Regions from separate parts of the Homo sapiens genome. Here region 1 is linked to region 2. The links are contacts of gene promoters, found by promoter capture Hi-C in blood cells and fetal thymus (Javierre and others, 2016). All regions are on one chromosome and are shown on one strand. Each heading gives the region's core, a stretch centred on a gene start or on the middle of the fragment in contact. The rest is flanking DNA. Distances are from core to core; before and after follow the strand shown.

Evidence for each region. The method cuts DNA at HindIII sites, captures the fragments that hold promoters and counts their contacts. A CHiCAGO score of 5 or more calls a contact.
Region 1: a contact is called between a fragment that was not itself captured here and the fragment with the promoter of MRPS18A in region 2, in 1 of 17 cell types (monocytes). The highest score is 5.3, in monocytes.

The regions. Positions count from the first base shown.
Region 1 is chr6:43,811,805-43,818,003 of GRCh38, reverse strand. All of the region lies in intron 1 of LOC105375070 (a long non-coding RNA gene), which reads right to left. Among named protein-coding and RNA genes, the nearest start is that of LINC02537, 37 kb to the left of the region's middle. RefSeq lists enhancers at 671-730, 851-900. The HindIII fragment of the contact is 838 bases long and covers 1,760-2,597 here.
Region 2 is chr6:43,684,418-43,690,602 of GRCh38, reverse strand. MRPS18A (mitochondrial ribosomal protein S18A) reads left to right here and starts at 2,812. Exons shown (of 6, transcript NM_018135.4): 1 at 2,812-2,935. The coding sequence starts at 2,824. It overlaps LOC124901320 (a long non-coding RNA gene), which reads right to left and starts at 1,641. Exons shown (of 2, transcript XR_007059586.1): 1 at 1,264-1,641; 2 at 710-932. RefSeq lists enhancers at 2,442-3,053, 2,999-3,058. The HindIII fragment of the contact is 1,093 bases long and covers 2,517-3,609 here.

The sequences.
Region 1 (6,199 bases), core at 929-3,428, 130 kb before region 2:
AGGCTCCCTGCTCATATCTCCTCCTTACATTCCTCAGGTTGCATGATTCTGTATAAGCCATTTCCATTTTATTATGGAACCCTCCTGGGCACTGCTGTCCTCATTAGAGTGTTTTTCTGACATCACCCGGGACAGCATGGATGTTTCAGGTGTCAAGATCATTTTATGTCCTTCAGACATGGGGTACCAAGGATACAATGAACAGATGCGTAAGACAAGGTATGCAGGAAGGACGTGGAGCTTCCATGCCCTCCCTGGGCGCACCGCCCTCCAGGAACGGCCATGTTTCCAGCTATCCAGAAGCTTCCCACTTTTCTAATGCTCACTAACTACTCCTTCCATAATCCACAAGGATCCTTGCCCAGGACTCTTTTTAAAACTCAGAACCACGTTTTTCCCTTCTCAAGGCCCCCGTGCTCTTGGCTTTCTCAGGTGGGACAAAGTGGCCCCAGCAGTCTGGTTCACAAGCTTCCTTTGTGCCCCAAGTGTTGTTTTATGGGGAGAGGCCCTTTGAACACCCCAGCAGCAGTGGAGAGGGGAGGGCCCATCCCACCTCCAGGGCTCCCTGGGCCTCTGTGTCATCTACTGCTGCCCTCTGGGTTTGCAGGCTGCTCTCCTGCCAGGGGGCAGCAAGGAGCCCTACTCTTCGTACACTCCCCACCCGTGCTGTGTCATCAGGCCCAACTGCAGCCTCTGGATCCCTTGATCTTGACTGGCTATGATCACAGCTAAACAAGCCTGGGTTGCCCCTAGCATCTTTCACAAACCTCTACCTATTTTTATCTTCCAGAAACTCTCTTTACAGGCCCGTAGTCCTGTCTCACATCTGTCCTTCCCTTCTCTGTTCAAGCCTCCTTAACACAGCAATTTGGCAAAGAGCTCTCCTGCCACACACTGATTTCTGTGGTCACCTCCCTTCTTCCTTCATTACTGGGACGCAGACTACCCTGTGTGGGATTGCACAGTGTCATGTACATTTTTGAGAGCTTCCCAGCCCTCTTGAGACAGCTATCCCACCCAGAGATTCGTGGCATGGAACCCTGCCTGTCTTTTTGCTGAAATATTGGCAGTCTGACTTTGGAAAGTCTGTTCCAGGCCCAAGTCTGTTCCAGGCCCTCCACAGCTCTCATCTGGATGGCTGCAAGAACCTCCTTGCTGGTCTCCCTGCTGCACTCTGAGCTTCTCACGGCCTCTCCCACCCACCCAATCTCTGTACCAGCATTGAGTAATATTTCTAAATTGCACAGCCAGCCCTGCCCCTGCACTGGCAGAAGCCAGGATAAATTGGTTAGACAAGGTTGACAGCATGACTTTCAAAGCCCACCGTGGCCTGGTTTCTTCCCCTCTCCACCTGCACCTCCTCTCTCTCTCTCTCTGTCTCTCTCTCTCCCCATCACTTAACTAAATATCTAATTGTGCTCACTTTCCTGGACATACTAGGTTATTTCACATGTCTATTTCTGCTTCTGCTCCTGCTGTCAATCTACCTAGGATGACGTTGCAACTGTTCTTGATACAGCTGCTCTAAAACTCACTCAGGAGCCACCTTTTCCAGGAACCCTTCCCTGAGCCCCCAAGTTAGGCCAACTCTGCTCCTCTGGTTTCTCTTTGCATCCTGAGCCTATCCTAGCTCTTACCACACAAGGCAGGCACTGCTCATCCTACCTAACAGTGATTCTGCTCCACCCTTTCTTCCTTGCCACCAGAACCTCACCTTTTCGGGTGACAATGTATCTAGGCCCAGAAGATGAGTCAAGCTTCATCTAAGACATCACCAGCATCCTGTTCCTATTTGCTAGTCCCTCAGTTTCCCAGCCTCCCTGAAGCATTTCCTCTCAGTTGTGCCCAATGATACATGAGAGGTCATTTTCAGAGGGGGTATCTGGGAAACACGTTTCTTCCCTGATAAAAATAGAGCCCCTTTCTCTCCTTGGCTTTTTTCTTTTCTGCCTTGAATATAATTATAGGAGTCACCATAGCAGCCATCTTGTGACCAGGAGGCAACAAGCATGGAGACAAAAATTAACACGTTGAAGATGGCAGAGCAGAAGGATAGAAAAAGGCTGAGTTTTGATAGCATCATTGATGTCATCCTTTCACCAAAGCTGGAACCCTCTGCCTCCAGACTTCCAGTGATGTGATATTGATCAATGTCTTTATTGCTCAAGCCACTGTCTGTTGGGTATTCTGTTGCTTGATACCAAATATATTCCCAACTGATGTGGGCTGTCATAAAAACAATCTTGGTATCTGCCTCCATGACTAGACTCCTTGAGGGCAGGAATGGTGTCTTATTTTTCTTAGTATTCCCAGAGCCTAACACAATGACTCAATAAATTATGGTTCGAAGGAATTAAACTGATGACTTCCCTTCCCTCTCGATTACAAATAACAGAACAGGTCCACTTTAAATTTTTTTTAATTTTTAAATTTTTTTTTTTTAGAGACAGGGTTGCACTATGTTGCCCAGGCTGGACTTGAACTCCTGGGTTTAAGTGGTTCTCTCACCTCAGCCTCCTGAGTAGCTGGGACTACAGGTGCACTCCATCAAGACCAGCTGGTTGCCTTTAGCCCAGGTTTGCCCTGTCACTGAAGCTTTTCCAACCAATCCCTCCTTCTTCCATTCACTTCCCCCACCCTCTGAAAGATTAAATGGTCCCCAGAGCCAGTTGAGAACAGTCCAGATGCTCTGCCCTAGCAAGTCCTCACAGGTGAGGTCCCCACCCGCTGTGTTGCCTTGGGCCAAGTGGTCATCGAGAAGGCGCCATCCACCTCCTCCTGCTGCCTCCATGGCTGGAGGACAGGACACACCCTGTTAGCCCTGATATCTGGATCCAGATTTCTGCTGTTCCAGAGAACCTCACCTTCACTCTCTTTAGGAATAGAACTTCCTTGAAGCCAAAAAGTTGGCTTTCAGAACAGGCCCCAGGCCTAGGCAAGTACAGACACCTGATTAACAAAGAGGCCATCTGGGTCAGCCACTCCCACTCCAACTGCCATACCTACCTGCCTTTCCTGAGCTTGGCTTGGGAAAATCTTAAGTTCCAGAAGGAACCACCACCCTGTGCCCTAGGTCTGCTCATTAAATATAGATCTAATTATTTATGGTACAAAATATACTTTTAAAACCTAATCAGTGTTGAGCACTTAAAGACTGATAGCATTTCGTATCGATTACTGGGGGCTCCAAATATGTGTACTAAATACTGAATGCAGAACTCAGCTTCTTATAAAACTTCACAGAAAGTATCACCCAAGGACAGCTCTCTGACTCGCCCACATTGACATTTGGTAACTGGCCTCGCCTAGGGACTCACCCATCACCCCTCAGTCCCCCTGTGAAGCCTTCAGACAGAGGCCCACCTCATGGAGGGCTCCAGCCGGGTGCTCTCCAATGTGCCTGCCCATTTCTGCTCCCACCAGCCAAATCAAGCATGTCCCAAAAGCCATTATTTCTGTCCCCAAACCTGTTTGCCAGTTGTGCTTGTTATTGTAAGTATGCAGTTTAATAAAATATGACACAAAACAATGAAATATGATGTGAAAAGAAAGAGTTTTCTTCTTTTCTTAAAAATCCAGGTTGAACACTTTGGAAGAGTTTGGTAACAGGAAACAGCTGAAAAAATTGCCATTGAGCAAGGCATAGAAGAGACAGACTATAAAGAATGGTGCTGGCGGGCAGGGTGGAGGGCCTATTCTGGAAGGAATCTACCCTTGATTGGTTCTTAAGAGCCAGGAAGTTCTCACTCCACTTTAAATAAACCAAAACCAGAACCCAAAGAAGTGAATATAATGGGTTAGTTTATGCCAGAAGACCATTCATGGCACAGGAGGGCCTGTGCCCAGGGGAAGGCTTCATTCATACATCAAAATGCTGGCACATGTTAGCACATCCATAGGGCTCCAATTAAAATGAAATCTTTACATTGTACAGGTTTTCTTTCTTTATGATCATTTGTCAAACTAACCAACTACAAGCCTTGATGGTATTGGATAGGAGGGCCTCACCGCACCAATTGTAAGTCCTGCAGCAAAGGCTTTATCACTGAGCCCCTGTTTCCTTGTGGATTTTCATCTGCCCCACCTCAGAGGACCGTGAAGATTACCGGGCGAGCGAAGCAGCCAGTAAAGTGCCTGTCGTTAGCAAGTATCAATTCTCCATTCCCATAAATGGTCTCACCATCCAGCCAATTAAGCAACTCAGAAATCTCGGAATCATCCCCAGCAGCTCCCTCTCCTTCCCTTCCGAACTCCTTCTACACCTCGCCCATCACCAAAACCCTGCCAAGTCTCCTGCTGAAAAACTCCTGATTATCCTTGGAGCTCCAGCCTCATAGAAGCTGCCCTGGACCAAGCCATCACCCTCTCTCGCCTGAGATCCCTACCTGGCCCTGCTGCTTTCACTCTCACCCCCGCCCCAGAATCCAGCCTCCTCCAGCAGCAAGAGGGATGTTTTAAAACATGACTGTAATCATGTCACTCCTTTGCTTAAAACTCTCTGGCAACTTTCAAACCTCCTTCGAATGACTGAGAAAGCCATACACACACACACACACACACACACACACACACACATACACAGCTGCACCCGCCACCTGTCAGTTCCTCAGAATGCACTCTGCTCCTTCGCACTTCAGGACCTTTGTACACACTGTCCCTGCAGCTTAGCACAGTCCTCACCCCTTCCTGGCTCGTTAACGCCTACTCATCCTGCAGGCCTCTACTTAAATGCCATTTTCTCAGAAATACTTTCCCTTTCACTTATACTAAAAATATTTATTCAGCACCTTCTAATGCCAGGCATTATTCTAGGTCATGTCTTGGGAAGACAATCATGAACAAGACAGACAAAATCCCTGCCCTTGCCAGGTGCAGTGGCTCATGCCTCTTCGTGAACAGAGTGCCGAAGCCAATGGCTCAGCACTTTGAGGGGCTGAAGTGGGGGGATCGCTTGAGGCAGGAGTTCAAGGCCAGCCTGGGCAATATAGCAAGACCCCATCTCTACAAAAAATACCAAAAAATTAGCCAGGCACAGTGGTGTGTGCCTATAGTCCCAGCCTTGGGAGGCTGAGACAGGAGGGTCCACTGAGCCCAGGAGGCTGCAGTGAGCTATGATCATACCACTGCACTCCAGCCTGGGAAACAGGGCAAGACTCTGTCTCTTAAATAAATAAATAAATAAACCCCTGCCCTCACAAAGATTACATCCTAGTGGGGAAGAAAGGGAATGAATAATTAAATAAATACTATTTTCAGATGGTGATAATAAAGGCATCTGATCACAATATGATTCATTTTATTATTAGAAGAAATAAATTATTACAAAAAATTCATATTTTTAGTCGCTTAAGGAAATTAGGTTTGAACAATATATCAAAGGCATTTATTTATACCAGTGACTGTTGAAATTTAGTTCTAGAATGTTGTTTCTGTTTGTACAATTTTTAAAATGTGACTGTGGCATGTTCCTTCAGTCAAAAAATAAAATAGAATACAGTGGCACCACTCATGGATACACACACATGAAGACACAGACATTTGAGTCGCTTTTGAGGTCACACACATTTGAGGTCAAAAGTGACATGTAGAGACATCACAGGCTCTCATGGGTATACATAAAAACACACCAGACACAAAACATGTCCCACACACACACACACACACACAGTCATTTGGAAACACACAGAGACAAGAGGCCAGGATGTTAGCACCACTACCCCTGACCTCCCTGGCACCTCCTACATCCCCACCTGCCAAGCTTGACCCTGACTGCTTGAGGCACCATTGCTGAAGGTGGCATGTCTCCCTCCTCCAAGGACATCTTCAGGCCCTAAATTCTGCCCCTACTACCAACAATTACCCAGCAACCTGAGCCCTGGCAGAGGCCGAGCTTAAATTAAAATAAAGACAGATCAAGGTACATTGAAATTTTGTGGTCATTCTCTACTGTGACCTCTACTCACCCCCAACCCCCAAGCCCAGTATCACACTCAATACCTATCCCATCACCACCATAGACCAACCCCACGCACCCCACACTCACCGAGTGCACACACTCCCACTGGCCCTGTATGGCATGTCACTACCTCTGCCCACAGACCCAGATCCCTCAGGTCTAAGACAGGTGTACTCACTGGAAATCCACAGGCACATGTAACCCCCATCCTCACATCCCCACACTCACACCCACAAGTCACAC
Region 2 (6,185 bases), core at 1,563-4,062:
GGAAAAGTAATGTATTGTGCTAAAAGTCAGGATAATGATTATCCTTGCGGGGTAGTGTCTGGAAGGGGACACAATGGGGTGTTCTAGAGTGCCAGTCAAGTTCTGCTTGAACATGCCACTCCACTCCAGTATGGGTAGTGTGTCCCTTTGCGAAAATTCATCAAGCAGTACACTGATGATTTGTGTGTTTTGTTGTTTTTTGTTTGTTTGTTTGTTTGGGTTTTTTGTTTTTTTTTTTGAGACAGTCTCACTCTGTTGCCCAGGCTGGAGTGCAATGGCGTGATCTCGGCTCACCGCAACCTCCACCTGCAGGGTTCAGGTGATTCTCCTGCCTCAGCCTCCTGAGGAACTGAGATTACAGGAGCCTACCACGCCCAGCTAATTTTTGTATTTTTAGCAGAGATGAGGTTTCACCATGTTGGCCAGGCTGGTCTCGAACTCCTGACCTTAAGTGATCCACCTGCCTCGGCCTCCCAAAGTGCTGGGATTACAGGCGTGAGCCATTGTACCCAGCCTGTGTATTTTTCTTACACAGGTAATACTTTAATTAAAAGATGTGTTGTTTTTTAAAGCTAGTCTCCTGATCCAAACCTGGTCTCACAGAATTGTAGGGACTAATCATAAATGGATTCAGAAAAATAAGATATTATAAGGCAAAGAATATCCACAGTATTATTTCATCTTGCTAAATGTAAACAATGCTTATCTCTGGATTTTAGATGACATTTATTTTCTTTTTACTTTATTTATTGTTTCATTTTTCTACAATGATCACATGTTACCTGTCATAGTTGTTTTTTAAAATAAAATTTGTTTATGATAAGTTAAGATAAGATAATGAGAAGAGGGTTGGCACTCGAATGCTTTAGCTCACTGTGTCCAAAGCAAGCCCTGGGTGGGGCTCTGTTGCTGCCCTTGTCTCTACTGGATTCCTGGAAGTTGGAAATGGGTGAAGAAACAGAGGATGTAGTACAAACACAAAAGGTCATCTATACATCTATAAGCTCAAGGTCATCTATGCAGAACAAACTTGGAAGCTATAGGGAGAGTCAAAGCTTTCTTGATCCTGGCTGGGACACCTAGACCTACACCTCACTAAGACCCTCTGCTTCACTCCTAATCCATGTGTCAGTCTCTACCACCTTGATTGACTTTTCTTTTAAGTTTCCCCTTCACCGGGTTTACCTTTGCTAAATGAGATGTTTTAACGTAACCCAATGCTGCATTTCTCCTGTTCTCCCTGTCTATGGTGATGCCACTCACATTTTCCATACAGCAGCTGCTCTGCATCCTCCTATTAGGGTGACGGTCCCAACTGGATGATGGGCTCCTCTCCTACTCATCAGAAAACATGCTATGTCATTTAATAAGCCTGATTTTCCCATCTTGAATCAGAGAAGGATAGGAAGAACTGAGTTGTGAATGATTTTCCTTTCCTGTGGAGCTCCAGAGGAACATCCTATACGTCTCACAAATCTGAAAGAGGAAAAACTGGCAGTTGTATTTTCTCTTTGGTACCATAAGCTTCCTTACAACACAAGTGAGTCCAACTTGTGAAAAGAGTCATCTCCATAACTGCTCTATTAACTAGCTTATGTTTATTGAGCCCTTTTGTTTTGTTTTGTTTTGTTTTGTTTTGTTTTTGAGACGGAGTTTCACTCTTGTCGCCCAGGCTGGAGTGCAATGGTGTGATCTTGGCTCACTGCAACCTCCGCCTCCTGGGTTCAAGCGATTCTCCTGCCTCAGCCTCCCAAGTGTCTGGGATTACAGGTGCCCGCCACCACACCCACCTAATTTTTGTATTTTTAGTAGATAGGGTTTCACCATGTTGGTCAGGCTGGTCTTGAACTCCTGACCTCAGGTAATCCACCCGCCTCAGCCTCCCAAAGTGCTGGGATTACAGGCATGAGCCACCACACCCGGCCGATCACTTATGTTTTATCACATCTAATCTTCAGGGTCTAGTCCTCCCCTAGGCCCTATAAAATAGATTCTACTCATTCATTCAACAAGTATATATTGTACTCTTATTATGTGTCAGGAACTATTCTAAGTGCTGGAGATGTGCGAGTCAACAGAAAACAATGTTCCTGACTTCATGGAGCTTACAGTCTGGTGAGAAGACACATACAAAACAAACATAAAACTGAAATTGTCCCAAGCACTAAGATGGAGAGGCATCTGGTGCTGAGAATGGGCAGTCAAGCAAAACTGTGGAAATAAGGTTTGAGGTGAGCTCTAAGAAATAAGCAGAAGCTAACTAGACAGCTAAAGAGCAGACAAAGGAAATAGCTTGTATCAAGGCCCTGGGGCTAGAGAGAGGTCTAAGTATATGCAAATCAAAGATCAGTGTGGCAGTGGTCAGGGAAGAAGGGGGTATCAATTCTATCCCAGGTCTGCCTGATATCCGATACTCCAGAGCCAGAGTTCCTAACCATTTCAGCCTCTCCCGTAGAGGTCTAGCCCCAGTCACAGAAGCTAAAAGTCCACAGCTCACGTGCAGTGAAGAGAAAGCTTTAAAGACATAGGTGGGGTGTTGCGTGCGATTTTCCTAAGGAAGCCTTCCAGGAAACGAATGCAACCTTGAAGACTTGTAGGCATTGGCAGACAGGAGCTAGAAGACCTCCCCTAGATCCTTAACACGAAATATAGGCTTGACGCAGAAGCCTCTCTTCGTATCCCAAAGCGGACAGGTGAGAGAAATGATGTGACAGGAGCAAGCGAACTACAACCCCGCCCCGCCGTTCCTGCCCCACCACTGCGGCGGCGGGCGCTACGTTCCGGAAGCGGAAATGGACGAGAGGTCAGGGTAGGTTTTTGAAGATGGCGGCCCTCAAGGCTCTGGTGTCCGGCTGTGGGCGGCTTCTCCGTGGGCTACTAGCGGGCCCGGCAGCGACCAGCTGGTCTCGGCTTCCAGCTCGCGGGTTCAGGGAAGGTGAGTCATGCGTCCCAGCAACCTCCTGAAATTAAGAAGAGCGGCAGAGACTGCTTCCGCCAGCCCCGGTGCGCTCCTTCCTACCTTTCCTTCGTCCGATTCTGAAACTTTGGAGGTACCGGCTCCCCAGGCGTGCTTAAAAGCCCCTTCCACACCCTGGTGCCTTATCTTGATCTCCTGCCCCTTGTGAGTATCTTCACAAGGCGGAGGAGGACGGAGAGAAAAGCCTGCTTACTTAGCAGGAGCAGACACTAAACCTGTCCTAGGGCTCAGAAAAGTTTTCGGAAAGGGTTTGCATGTTAATTCTTCCTTCCATGTTCTCCGAATCGCAGTCTCTTTTATTAAAGAGTCTCTGGATCACGAAGGAAGGCCATCTGGGTACCCTCCCAGAGCCTCCCTTTCCACTTTCCCTTCTCAAAATGCTGTGATCTGATGGCGGCGTTCTCTGCCCCGGGCCGCTAGTCTCCCTGTGAGGGGGAGGCCAAAGTGGAAAGGCCATTGAATAGCTGAGACATAGGCAAATGCAGGATGGTAGTTCAGCTTTTCATTAATCTTAATCTGGGAAAGCGGCCTGATTCGAGCATCAACTGAGAGTTTACTGAATGCCAAGTGCTATGCTTCAAGCTGTGAAGGAATTCTGGAGACAGAAAATACAGCCCTTTTTCTGAAAAGCTTAGGTTCTAATGAGATTATGTATATACACACTCCAATAAATGCAAGTTAGCCTTTTACGTGACGAAGTACAGGGAGACTCAGTTACTGGAAACGGCAAACCCAGTTGGAAGTTTTCATAAAGAGGATGTGTCTTGAGCAGGCTCACAAAAGGATGGAATCTGGCGGAGAGTGAAACGGTCTTTTAGGACATAGCCTTCCTTTGTGTACTCCTGGAAGCAGGAAAGGATGAGTGATGTGCAAAAGAAGAGATGTGGGGTTTTTTGAGGATCTGGCATAGTATTGGGCAGCATATCCTTTAACGAAAGCTGAGAAGTATCCAGTGGAAAAGAGTGATCATTGTTGTCAGAGGGAGCAGAAAAGTCTAAAAAGGGCCTAATGAAGGGGCCATTGGATTTGTCTCAGAAGAGGTCTCTTTGTAGCTTTCAAACAGCAATTTCAATAGAGTGGCAAACAAGGAATCCAGTTTGGAGAAATGAAAGAGATAGTTGATGAAGAGATGGAAATAGTAAGTATGTTTGAAGAATTTAGCCCGTAAGGGAAGTGGAGCATTTGCTAGAAAAAAAAGTCTGGATATTGCCTGATTAACTTATCCATTAGTAGACCCATTAATAAAGACACTAAAGAAATCATGCAGATGATAGAGAGGACTTGGATGTTTCATTTGTTCCCATGCTGCAAAATAGGCATATCTCCATACCATTTTGGGGAGTCTACCAAGTGTCAAACACTATTGGCTACAATTTGCATATTCTTATGAAATTCAAAGTTGAGGCAGATTTTGCTATGCTTCCAGAAAAAAAGGCAAGAGGAATCGTTTTGTTTTAACAACAAATATTTGAAGTTAGACTTAATTTTTTCCTTTGGAGAGTTTGTGAAATGATGGACTGTAAGCCAGGTACAGTGGTACATATCTTTAATCCCAGCACTTTGGAAGGCCAAGGTGGGAGGATCACTTGAGCCCAGAAATTGGAGTCTAACCTGGGCAACGTAGTGAGAACGCCCACCTCTTTAAAAAAAGTAAAAAAGGATGGACTGTAAATCAAATGGGTCTCTGAAGTCCTTCATCTAAATGTTAGGTTGAATTAATATGATTCTACATGAAGGCACTACCATATTCTATATTCTTAAGAATCACCTATCTTCAAAGCTTGTAAATGAAAACATTTTCTTTTGCTAGTCTATGCATTATGTGTAAGGCATAAAGTATTATACATATAGCTAATTTTGACTAGTCTCAGCTGGTATATGTGACACCCAAACAATATTGTACACATAGAATTTAAAGTTGTGGGAAAGAAGCTGGTTCTCTTGCTGAAAATATTCAGGCATCCTACTTTTCAAAGTATCAGATAATAATACATAATTTTAGTCAGCTCTTGAGGACTGAGCACCAATTTTCCTGTCTATGAAGACTTTCAGTCTAAAACAGTGATTTTCAACTGGGGGGCAATTTTGTCCCCCAGTAACAATTGGCCATGTCTGCAGACATTTTTGGTTGTCACAACTGGTACTACTGGCATCTGGGGGGTAGAGGCGAGGGACGCTGCTAAACATAATGCACAAGTCAGTTCCCCACAACAAAGAACCATCTGGCCCAAAATGGCAGTCCTGCTGCTGTTGAGAAAGCCTGGTTTAAAGTTTGACCAGAGAGATACACAAAGCCAAAAAAAGGTTATTATGGGAAAAGCAAGACTGAAGGAGGACGAAAATAGAAATTGTGACTTACTGTGCCTGCTTCAAATACTGTGCTAGGTTTTCCACATACATTTATTCAGTCTTCTCAAAAACACCTTAAAGGTAGATATTAACTGTCCTCATTTTTATAAATGAGGAAATGCCGTTCCAAGGGGTTTAATAGCTTGCCCAGCATCACCTGTCTAATAAGTGATGGAGTTGGAAGTAGAGCCAGCCCTCTTCCCTCTCCACCAGTAACATCACCTTGGTATTCCATGGCAGGGCCTCCCTTATTGTTCCCTCCTTCCCTGAAAGCTCTTAGCAGTTAACTTGCCAAAGACCATTTAGTGCCATTATGGTTGGCACTGCCAGATTTAGCAAAGACTGTGTTGGATCTCATTCCTCCCTTATCCCTCTTAGAGCCCTTGTGAAGGAAATGTATTTAAAATAAAAAAACAAACATATTATTATATAAATTAAGACATGATTTGTCAGACACTTAGAGAAAGGTATATTGAAGTGAGTAAAGGCCAAAGGGAATTTGCTTCATCTCTTTCACAGTCAGTTAAGAAGGCCTTCTGGAAGACCTAACGTTTCAGACAAGGGTATGCCTGGCAGGTTGGGCAGTCCCATATAAAAGCTTTGAGAGAGGAGTGAGTTGGAGTCTTTAAAGAATTCAGGGGACATAGTCCAGAGTAACCTGCTAGTGGGAAGAAATTTTTGTGCAGCAGTAAGACGACTCATTCTGAAGCATAGGGCAGAGGGACATTCCCTCAGGGGTCCAAGGGAAAGAAAGGGGGAGGTGATGAGGGAACCAGAAACTTTAATGGTAGAGTTAAAGATGAACTGGAGGAAGCAGGGCTTGAGGCAGGAAGGTGTTTGCAAAAAGTTGTCAGTGGCC